2 separate regions of the Homo sapiens genome follow, and region 2 is linked to region 1. Evidence: promoter capture Hi-C in 16 types of primary human blood cells and fetal thymus (Javierre and others, 2016). All regions are on one chromosome and are shown on one strand. Each heading gives the region's core, a stretch centred on a gene start or on the middle of the fragment in contact. The rest is flanking DNA. Distances are from core to core; before and after follow the strand shown. Region 1 holds the start of EZH2 (enhancer of zeste 2 polycomb repressive complex 2 subunit). Region 2 overlaps C7orf33 (chromosome 7 open reading frame 33).

Evidence for each region. Contacts are between HindIII fragments. The CHiCAGO score rates a contact against its expected background, and 5 or more counts as called.
Region 2: a fragment that was not itself captured here is called in contact with the fragment with the promoter of EZH2 in region 1 in 1 of 17 cell types (activated CD4 T cells); the score reaches 6.4 in activated CD4 T cells.

What each region holds. Positions count from the first base shown.
Region 1 is chr7:148,880,783-148,886,417 of GRCh38, reverse strand. It overlaps EZH2 (enhancer of zeste 2 polycomb repressive complex 2 subunit), which reads left to right and starts at 2,127. Exons shown (of 20, transcript NM_004456.5): 1 at 2,127-2,254. It overlaps LOC124901767 (a long non-coding RNA gene), which reads right to left and starts at 1,229. Exons shown (of 2, transcript XR_007060579.1): 1 at 935-1,229; 2 at 1-61. RefSeq lists silencers at 1,494-1,723, 1,844-2,213, 2,374-2,963 and an enhancer at 2,182-2,873. The HindIII fragment of the contact is 14,290 bases long and covers 1-5,635 here.
Region 2 is chr7:148,610,746-148,616,380 of GRCh38, reverse strand. C7orf33 (chromosome 7 open reading frame 33) reads right to left here. Exons shown (of 3, transcript NM_145304.4): 2 at 2,085-2,339; 3 at 521-1,054. The coding sequence ends at 980. Among named protein-coding and RNA genes, the nearest start is that of C7orf33, 23 kb to the right of the region's middle. RefSeq lists enhancers at 4,190-4,690, 4,691-5,191. The HindIII fragment of the contact is 6,964 bases long and covers 1-5,635 here.

The DNA of each region.
Region 1 (5,635 bases), core at 878-3,377:
CGGGAAAATTATGGGCTAAATCATCTGATGAAAAATTCTGGCCCAGCGCAGTGGCTCACGCCTGTAATCCCAGCACTTTGGGAGGCCGAGACGGGCGGATCACAAAGTCAGGAGATCGAGACCATCCTGGCTAACACGGTGAAACCCCGTCTCTACTAAAAACACAAAAAATTAGTCGGGTGTGGTGGCAGGCACCTGTGGTCCCCAGCTACTCGGGAGGCTGAGGCAGGAGAATGGTGTGAACCCGGGAGGCGGGGCTTGCAGTGAGCTGAGATGGTGCCACTGCACTCCAGCCTGGGCGACAGTGTGAGACTCCGTTTCTTAAAAAAAAAAAAAAAAAAAAAATTCTGGCTAGTTATTAAATTCATTAAAAATATTTCTTCAGATTTTTACCCCAACAGTTCATAGGTGACCTTTTTTCAGTTTCCAGTATGAACTCTCAATATGGAATCTCAGTTTACATGACAATGGTATTTTACCCCATAGATACATCCTAGTAAAAATAAATTCGGAATACTCTTAACTGCATTGCCACATGAAGCAATAGGAGAGACTGTATCCTAAGCAGAATCCCTCTAATTCCTCTGGGTTGAGGTAGCTTGACCCCCCATAACCAAGATCAATTTTTTTTTTTTTTTTGAGATGGAGTCTCGCTCTGTCGCCCAGGCTGGAGTGCAGTGGCGTGATCTCGGCTCACTGCAAGCTCCGCCTCCCGGGTTCACGCCATTCTCCTGCCTCAGCCTCCCGAGTAGCTGGGACTACAGGCGCCCGCCACCACGCCCGGCTAATTTTTTGTATTTTTAGTAGAGACGGGGTTTCACCGTTATTAGCCAGGATGGTCTCGATCTCCTGACCTTATGATCCGCCCGCCTCGGCCTCCCAAAGTGCTGGGATTACAGGCGTGAGCCACCGCGCCTTGCAAATATCCTCACACTTTGCAGAGGCGGCAAGTGAACAGTGCTCATCTTGATAAAGGATTTTTAACACTGACACGTGCTTAGAACTACGAACAGTGGAAGGGTCTGAAATGGCAGCAATGTCGCCCTTTCACAGGTTTCTAGGGCGATAAGCACTGCAAGCTCGGCCAGCCAAAGTCCAGCGGTGGGGGAAAAAACGGCCAAGGCAGCAGCAGACATAATCAAACAGGGCCCGGGTCGGCGGCGGTGGCTCACGCCTGTAATCCCAGCACTTTGGGAGGCCGAGGCGGGCGGATCACCAGAAGTCGGGAGTTCGAGACCAGCCTGACCAAGACCCGTCTCTACTAAAAATAGAAAATTAGCCGGGCGTGGTGGCGCATGCCTGTAATCCAGCTACTCGGGAGGCTGAGGCATGAGAATCGCTTGAACCCGGAAGGCGGAGGTTGCGGTGAGTCGAGATCGCGCCATTGCACTCCAGCCTGGACAACCAGAGCGAAACTCCGTCTCAGGAGAAAAAAAAAAAAGTAGTAACGGGTCCGGCGGCAGCGCGCGGGCCGGGCGAGCGTCTCCCGGCAAACGCGGCGCCACAGCTGAGCCGACCTCCGGGGCCCGCGCCCTCCCCTCCCCGGGCACCACTAGGAGCGGCCAGCCCGGGCCTCGGCTCCGCGCGCGGGGAAACGAGCGCGGCGGTTAAAACCGTTACCACCCCCGAGTTTTGAACTGGTTCAAACTTGGCTTCCAGCACCCGCCCCGCCCCTCCCCCGCCCGGGAACTCTGCGGCGCCGGTTCCCGCCAAGAGCCGCCGGCGCTTCGTCCCGCCCTTCGGCCGGTTCCCGCCACCTATCCTCCCCGCCTCCCGTCCGCGGCGGGCTCCGGGCCCCCGCGATGTCTCCCGGTCCCCGCGTGCCTGCACACCGCCTTCCTGAGAGGCGCCGTGTGTTCAGCGAAAGAACAAAGAGACGGCGGCGGCGCTTCCACACGGCCAGTGGCGTCCCTTACAGCGAACCCCGCCGCCGCCCGCGCGCGCACGCGCTGCCAGTGCCCGCCCGCCCACGAGCCCTGAGCGCACTCTGCGTGGGGCTGGCTCGGCGCCTCCGAGCCCGGCGGGCCCTGTGATTGGACGGGCGCCCGCCTCGCGTCCCGCCAATCGGGGCGGCGCTTGATTGGGCTGGGGGGGCCAAATAAAAGCGATGGCGATTGGGCTGCCGCGTTTGGCGCTCGGTCCGGTCGCGTCCGACACCCGGTGGGACTCAGAAGGCAGTGGAGCCCCGGCGGCGGCGGCGGCGGCGCGCGGGGGCGACGCGCGGGAACAACGCGAGTCGGCGCGCGGGACGAAGGTAACGCGCCGCTGCGGGCGGCCCGGCCGGCGGGGCTCCGGGAGTGCGAACCGGGCGGCGGCGGCGGCGCCAGGACCTCCCCGCCACTGCTGTGCCGGTCCCGGGTATCGCCGAGCGGGGCTCACCGGGGCGCCGCGTTTGTAGGCGTGCGGGGGGTGGAGGGTGAGGGGAGAGCCCCCCTCCCCGGAAGGAGCTGTGAGCTTCGGGCTGGCCCGCGGGACCCTGCGAGTGAGGCAGCGCACACCCCTGGAGCTGCGGGGCGGGGGGCGTGTGGGGGGCTCCTTTCCCGGTGCTTGTCCTGGCCGGGGCGCCGGGGCCGGGGTCGGGGCGTTCCGGTGCCCGGTCCAGGGTGGCAGCTCGAGCCTCAAGTCTCCTTTGTGTGGCGCGGCCGCGGCGGGAGCGCCCGGGTGGGACGGGACAGACACAAGTTGGTGGGACCCAGCCGCCGAGTCCGCACTCAGACAAAGGACGGACTGTGTCTCCGGAGGGCTCGGCGCGAGGGGAAGGGGCATGACACCCGGGCCCGCCGGCGGGCGGGAGAGGGGCGTGGGGAGGCGCGGGCCGCTGCCGGGGTGGGCAGGGCTCGGCCCTCGCCTCGCGCACGCCCCCGGTCCCGGGCGCGCCGACCCCGGGCTGGGGCCGCGGCGCTCGCGGGACGACGTTCGCGGCGGGGAACTCGGAGTAGCTTCGCCTCTGACGTTTCCCCACGACGCACCCCGAAATCCCCCTGAGCTCCGGCGGTCGCGGGCTGCCCTCGCCGCCTGGTCTGGCTTTATGCTAAGTTTGAGGGAAGAGTCGAGCTGCTCTGCTCTCTATTGATTGTGTTTCTGGAGGGCGTCCTGTTGAATTCCCACTTCATTGTGTACATCCCCTTCCGTTCCCCCCAAAAATCTGTGCCACAGGGTTACTTTTTGAAAGCGGGAGGAATCGAGAAGCACGATCTTTTGGAAAACTTGGTGAACGCCTAGTGAGTTGCCACTTTCTAAAGAATCGTAATCCTTAAACATTACAAGCTGTTTTGGCCAACTTGTGTGATACATCTGAGAATGGCGACAGGTGCTAACGAAATCAACTGTCATTCAGCCAGATTATTCCCCAAATCCCGACGGGTTGAATGAGGATGAGGTGGTAGAAGTAGGTGATCAAAATAGAATGGCTATGACAAATGTGTGTTTAGATTATACGGTTAGCAGTTTCTTATTAATTGGTCTCGTTTTCTGTGAACAATAGCTTTGGTGATTCAGAAAAGACTGCATGGAGAAATGTTTGTTGCCTAAGAAATTTAACGTGTGCTGTCCACAGTTAAACTTCCTTTATCACACAGGATCTGTAACATTTAAATTCATTTGGAAATAAAAATGTGTCTTTGCTATTTACTTAAAGGCTTGCTTTTTAGGGTTCAAGCAAGTTATTATTAGTTTAATTTTGTGGCGTTTTGATGTCATCATAAAACAGCATTTAATAAACCTTTGAAAAACACGAATGCTGTCACAATTGAATGTAGTTTATACTTTTAGGGGTTTTGGAGTTTATTTTCTATTACTCTTCATAAGCATTAGCAACTAATTCATGTTTAGGAATACTGTACAAGTGTGTAATCCTAACTTGTTTATTTGTAATTTTATTTGCAGGAAAACAAGTATTTAAGATATATTTTAATTTTCTATTCATGGTCTCTAAAGTTAGGAATAGGTAGGATTCTAGTCATAGATATAAAGCGTCTTGTTCTCTCTTTTCGGAGGTGTGTTGGGTGATGTAATATTTAAGGTTTCCCGGAAACAGGAACACTGCATCTTAAATTCTCGTTTTTGTGGAAAGTGAATATATTCCAAGAAAACAAGTTAGAAAAACATAGGCGTTCTTCTGGTTGCACTGTCCTATATGATAAAGATCTAATGTGCATCTGCTAACTTAAGGTTTCATAAAAATGGAGACAAATAAATGCAATATAAATTTATTACATATATTTTGGAGAGTGTTGACACCACTGTACGGGCATTCCAGGTGCTGGTCTAAGTGTTGAGACATTATAACAAAAAAGTAACGTTTATATTAGTTACTATTAATTCTGTATTTAAAAAATCCTATTAATAATCTTGTCCATTATGAGATAAGGTAGTTATGCAGATTTTTGGCAGAAATTCGGATATTTTAGGATACATATGTGTGTGTGTGTGTGTGTGTGTGTGTGCGCGCGCGTGTGTGTGTGTGTATATGTTTTTTTTTTTTTGAGACAGAGCCTTGCTCTGTCGTCCAGGCTGGAGTGCAGTGGCTGGATCTGGGCTCACTACAATCTCTGCCTCCCGGGTTTAAGGAATTCCCCTGCCTCAGCCTCCCGAGTAGCTGGAACTACAGGCACGCACCACGACACCCGGCTAATTTTTGTATTTTTAGCAGAGACAGGGTTTCACCATGTTGGCCAGGCTGGTCTCGAACTCCTGACCTGAAGTGATGTACCCGCCTCCGCCTCCCAAAATGCTGATCCAGACGTGAGCCACCACGCCCAGCCTAGGATAAAAATTTCTAACTTTGCCCTTGAGTGTTCTCTGTATTTGATAATTACTATTCTTTGTACTTGCCATGAGATATTTTGAAAAACATCTCTTTGGGGAATTGGTTTAAAAATTCATATTAAATTATTTTCTGGTACAATTGAGAATGTATTTAGTCAGTTTAAGTAGCAGTGACTTAAAACACACTTGTTGATCTAGTGTAGTTAGAAAAAGTTCTGATACTTTGATACCTAGCTTTGCCTTGCACAAATACATTTAAGTGAATATCTTTATGTTGGCCATTTAAAAATTTTAGGCAAATTTCTCCAAGTCATACTGGAATTTTCCCAGGATACCTTCCTTCTTTTGAGGTAGTGTGCTCAAGGATTCTGAATTTATTTCAGTATTACCCTTTACATGAGCAGTGATTGAGAAAGTTGATCTGCTTTTTAAAAACCAACAAGGACAAATCCTCCAATATAATGTATTCTGTGGTTAATTAGCAATGATTTATGGATTAGCCTTGAAGTCTTTATATCAGTATAGATGACAAATTTTCTGTAAATCATGATAGATTCTATATGAGTAGGTGAAATCTTCGGGGGAGAGCATAAGTGAACAGCAGCAATTCATTAAATTCAGAGAAAGGTTCATGGTCAGATGATACATACTTTACCTTCTGGAGGTCTTCCCTGAATTCCCACTCTTGTGTTCCCACAGGGTTTTATCATATTTTATTGTAGCATGACTCAATTGTATTGTAATCACTTGTTTATGCATCCCTCTCTTCCCTACAGTCAAAGTGCCTCCTGGTAGAGGCTCTGTCTTATTTTTTTCTTTGTATACCTAGTACCTACGTTGGTATTTGCTAGAGAATAGGGGTTTTAAA
Region 2 (5,635 bases), core at 1,887-4,386, 270 kb after region 1:
ATACAAGTCAAAGAGCCTCAGAAGGCTCTGCCCATGCCCTGGTCTCTGATTTCTATCCTTCAGAACTGTGAGGATATGTGCCTCTGTTGGTTAAGCCCGTCCCCCAACCCCGCTCTGTGGTACCTTGCTAGGGAACCCTTGCTGACAAACACAATATTATCACAGAGTAAAGAAGCGGCCAAACTGCATTTCAAACTGGTAGGATTTCCCCTCCTGCACACTCAATATGGTGGTTTCCAAATGATTTGAGGTCAGGAGTTCGAGACCAGCCTGGCCAACATAGTGAAACCCCATCTCCACTAAAAATACAAAAATTAGCTGGACGTGGTGGCAGGCACCTGTAATCTCAGCTACTCGGGAGGCTGAGGCAGGAGAATCGCTTGAACCCGGGAGGCAGAGGTTGCAGGGAGCCGAGATCGCACCATTGCACTCCAGCCTGGGCGACAAGAGTGAAACTCCATCTAGAAAAAACCCCAGAAAACATAAAAGAATTGAGAAGAATGAAATCCACACAATGAGATAAGTTTCATCGCGAGTTTTACTGAATGCATGTTTTACTTAGACATACCAGATATTACAAATAATATCATAAATGACAGTGTGTTTCAGTTGTAAACTCTAGAGTCTCATCATCGGGAGCACACAGCAGACAATGGTCAGGGAAACATCTCTATCCAGGTCCTCTGGGGATCTTCGTCTCCCTTTAGAACCTGGTGGCTTGTCACTCCGTGGTCCTCTCCTGGGCCCCACACCAGTGCACAAATGCCACACAGATTCCTGCAGGTACACGTGGAACTTGGGCTCATGATCAAAGAGAATTCTCAGCCTGTCTGCTGGTGTTCAAAGTTCAGACTTCAGATTACCAAGTTTTCATCAACTGTTATTTCCAGAACTTCAGCTATTTCTCTTTTTTCTTGCAAGAAGAGATTTCACAATCTACACAAATTTAGAGATGTGACTCTTAGATTCTGCAAAATTCTTAACTGCTGTCAGTTCTGGAAATCCTTGTGGCCTCAACAGAATTCTGGAGCTTTCTTACTTCATGCCCACGTACCTACATGTGGATTACGAAGACTTCTGTTATCTCAGGATGATTTACCTTTTCCCTAGAACATCAATAGCACAGTTTAAAACACTGTCTCAGCCTGGCATGGTGGCTCATGCCTGTAATCCCAGCACTTTGAGAGGCCAAGGTGGGTGGATCGCTTGAGCCCAGGAGTTTGAGACCAGCCTGGGCAGCATGGCAAAACCCCTTCTCTACCAAAAATATAAAAATTAGCCAGTCTTATAACCTGGTCTCAAAATAAGTAAATAGATAAAAATTTTAAAAAGTATTAAAAAAAATCGCTATCTCTACCAGCTCCCACCAGTTCCTAACAAAATCAATTTCACTTACTTCATCTTCCTATTTATTAATGCTCAACCTATTTGCTTAGAACTTTAGCATTTTCCATGCAACTTTTCATTTATGTCAAAGATTTAAAGTGATACAGGCAACAATAATTTTAGAGAAATCTCATTGCTTTATTACTACTAACAGTATTTAAAATTTTTAGGCTGAAGTTTAAAAATCCTTACTATTGATGGATTACTTTTTAAGTTAGGAGTTCCTTTATAGATACTGTGGTTTGAGGCACCAATTTCATGGAACTTTATGTGCTGAGTGGTTGTACGGGCTCACGTAGGACCGAAGCCATAGCTTCCTGTAGAGACTCCATCTGCAAGTACAATGCCAGCTCCGAAATGGCATTTGCACGAAGAATTCCCATACAGGATCCCCTTTAGTGAGCTCTTATTTTGTTAAAGTTGCCTTATGTTCTCTTAATAACATTAGTTATCATTAATACAAGGGAGAAGGTGCTTTCAGAGCATCTTGGTAAGGGGCACTTTCTTTTATCTTAACATAAATCAAGTTGGCAAAAAAGCATGGGATCAGATCAGTTTCATGCTGGACATTCAGAGAATATGAAACATCCAGGCATGCAAGAATGCAACAATCCCTCCAATCTTCATTTTCATGGAAGTTTCAGAGCATCCCGTGGGTTTCCTTAAACTTGGAGGTGCTAAGACACTTCGGAGCTTACGTTTAGGTATGAACTTGTCACTGTCCTCCCAGGCTTGTAAGAGAGAGTTAGCAGATCTAGGTAACTGGAAGACAAGGTGCCGACAACTGGATCTGAGGACAAGCCCATCCTGGTGCCTGGCCTGATTCTGACTGCTCTCTGGGCATCCGTGGGACCTTGAGAAAGAAAATGCCACGGGGCACCAGATTTGGTGGGAGCTGATACAGGAGCAATAAATTCCATCCCCCGGTTCATGTTTTGGTGTGGGTTTGGCTTCTGGAAAAAACAAACAAACAAACAAATTGGGTTAAAGGGTGGAAAGATGGTGATCAGTAAGCTACTAATTTGTTCTCACATTTCTTTTGAGGCTACTAAGTAGCTGTCAGACACATGAAATAGCCTAAAGATTATAGACAAAGATATTCTGGAAATTTTGGCAACATTTGCTTTTAGAATTAGTTGGTTCCAAAATTTTAAAACACACCATTTTAATTTTTATTAGCTTTATCATTCACAGGTAATACACCAATTCAAGGTTTACAGTGGTTATCAGTATATTCAAGGAAATGTGCAACCGTCACCACTGTCAATTTTAGAACTTTTTCATCATCCCCCAAAGAAATCCTGTACCCATTAGCGGTCACTCCCCATTTCTCCCTAAGTCTCCCCAGGCAACCACTAATCTACGTTCTACCTCTATGGATTTGCCAATCTGGACATTTCACATAAATAGAATCAAACATGTAGTATTTTGTAACTGAATTCTTTCACTTAGCGTGATGTTTTCAAGGTCCGACTATGTTGTAGCATGAATCGGAACTTCATTCCTTTTAATTGCCCAGTAATAGTTTATTATATAGGTAGACCACGAATTATTTATCCATTCATCATTTGGTGGACATTTGGGTTGTTTCCATTTTTTGAGTATTATGAATAATGCTGCTATGCACGTTATTTGTGTACAGAGCTTTTGTGTGGACACATATTTTCACTTTCTTGAGTATATACCTAGAAGTAGAATTGCTGGGTCATTATGTTAAGTGAAATCAATCAGGCACAGAAAGATAAATACCACATGTTCCCTTTATATGTGGAAGCTAAAAAGAAAACTTGAGCCCATGGAAATAGAGAGTGGAACAGTGAGTCTTAGGGTCTGGGAAGAGTGGTGAGGAGGAGACTCCAGGGAGAGGCTGGTTAATGGATACGAAATGACAGCTAGATAGAAGAAATGAGTTCTGCTGTTCTGTAGCACAGTAGGGTGAAGATGGTTAACTGTAATTTATTCTATATTCTCAAAAAACTAGAAGAGAGGGTTTTGAATGTTTATGGCACAAGAAAATGATAAATATTTTAGGTGATGATATACTGATTACCCTGATTTGATCATTACACATTGTATACATGTATGGAAATATCATTCTGTATCACATAAATATTATGTGCCAACTAAAAATAAAAGGGAAAAGATCTAGTATGTGTTTAATATTTTGAGGAAGTGTCAAAGTGGCTGGCACCATCCTGTATTCCCACTGGCAATGCATGAGGGTGTCAATTTCTCCACATCCTCACCAGCCAGCACGTGTTATTACTTGCCTTTTTAGTTATAGCCATCCTAGTGGGGATGAAGTGGTTTTAATTCTGGCTTTGATTTGCATATCTCAAATGGCTAATGATGTTGAGTATCTCTTCATGTACACATTGGCTATTTGTAATCTTTTCTGGAGACATATCTGTTCATATTCTTTGCCCATTAAAAACATTGGGTTATTTATTGAGTTGTAAGAATTCTATATTTTGGATATAAGTCCCTCATCAGATATGATTTGCAAATATTTTCTCCCATTCTGCAGGTTGCTTTACACTTTGTCGATAATACATTTTATAGCATAAAAGATTTTAATTTTGATGAAGTCCAATTTCTCTATTTTTTCTTTTGTCATTTGTATAGTTCCAACATTTTGAAAGAAATATCTAGCTCTTCAAGGTAGAGATGAAAGAGTTTCAACTTATAGATCTGATGGGAAGTTCATTATTAATGCCACACTTAGAAGATGAGGAAATAAGATACTTAGAACCAAGAAATAAGAAAACAGCAATGGAAATTAAAAAAAAAATCACTGGCTAACTTCAGTTGACTACAAAGATCTCTGTCAGTCATGGTCCAGGCCAGAAGCAGGTGGAATATTCAGAAGGTCTGACTGGGGAGAATTTAATCAAGCGCCTTTTCTATAGAGGCACTGATAGTGCAAGGAAACCAGGCATTATAATGAAGCCCCCAGGGCTGGCAATGCTGCAAGGTTGCTATTCCAGTGTGGTGGACAGGGAGGGAGCAGGTACTGAAAGCTAGTGAAATGGGAGCGTTCCCTGATTCCCCCTGCAGCACATGCAACACAGGTGTGGCTCACCTGCTTGGTTGCCCTGCAGCTCAAACCCCTAGGGGGAGCATGCAGACTGGCAGGTGCAGATGCCGGGATGAATGCTTTGGGCTCTTGGCCCCGCAGCAATGTCTAGGGGTGGGTGTCTGCAACTCCCAAAGCCCAGGTGGGCACGTGTAACCCAAGCTCTTTCAGATTTGCCATCTGCAGATGGCTTGTGTGCTAATCAGCTCAATGGACCCTCTGCCTTATTGCAAGGGCAGAGGGCCAGTGTGACAGCCTCTGTTCCCTGAGCTCTGGCCCAGTGTCCCAGAAGAATCGGATCACACATGGGCTCGAAGGATAAGTGCAAGTTTTTATTGAGTGATGGAGGCGGCACTCAGCAACATGGATGGGGAGCCGGAAGTTGAAGGGGTGGGGGAAATAATCTTTCCCTGGAGTTGGGCTGCCCAGCAGCCGGACCCTTCTCCAACCACCCCTGGCCGACCTTCCCTCGGCATCAAGACGTCCCTCTTTTTCTTCTCTGCTGCATCGTTCTGCTGTCACTGGTCTGCTGGTCTCGACATTCAGCTGCTTGTGTGTGTACCCACTAAGGTCTTGGGTTTATATGGGTACAGGATGGGGGGCTTGGTTGGCCAGGGTGGTCTTGGAAAATGCAACATTCAGTCATGAAAACAGGAGTGCCTGTTCCCACTTAGATCTGTGGCACAGGCTTGAGGGTGGAGCCCTCACCAGGGACCTGGCCCTTCTCTACCCAGCACTTCCCTGCCCAACTCCCATGTCACTAGTTATGGGGAAGGGCTGTTTGGGGAAAGCCATAGCTTTTGCTAGAGGAATATGGCTACTGCCCACCTACAGTCTGGCAAGGAGCACGCTGGAGGAATCATACCTCCAACTCTCTTTCCTCTCACTCTGTCATCTCCTGCCCATACCATCTTAGTCGAACCCAATTCACACCAGGAACAAGGTGGCCTAGTTGATACAGTCCATAAGGCCAGCCTCTGGGGCCACAGAACAAGAAGGTGGAGAAGAATGAGGGGTGGATTGTGGAGCAGAAGGAGAACATCCAGTGAAGTCACTAGGTGGTGAGTCAGACACTTTGTCCTTTTGGTGGGGGAGCAATTTACACTGAAGATAATGCTCTCATCTTGTTTTTTAACTAGCCCTGCCCCATTGCTGTCCCTTTACCCAGGAATG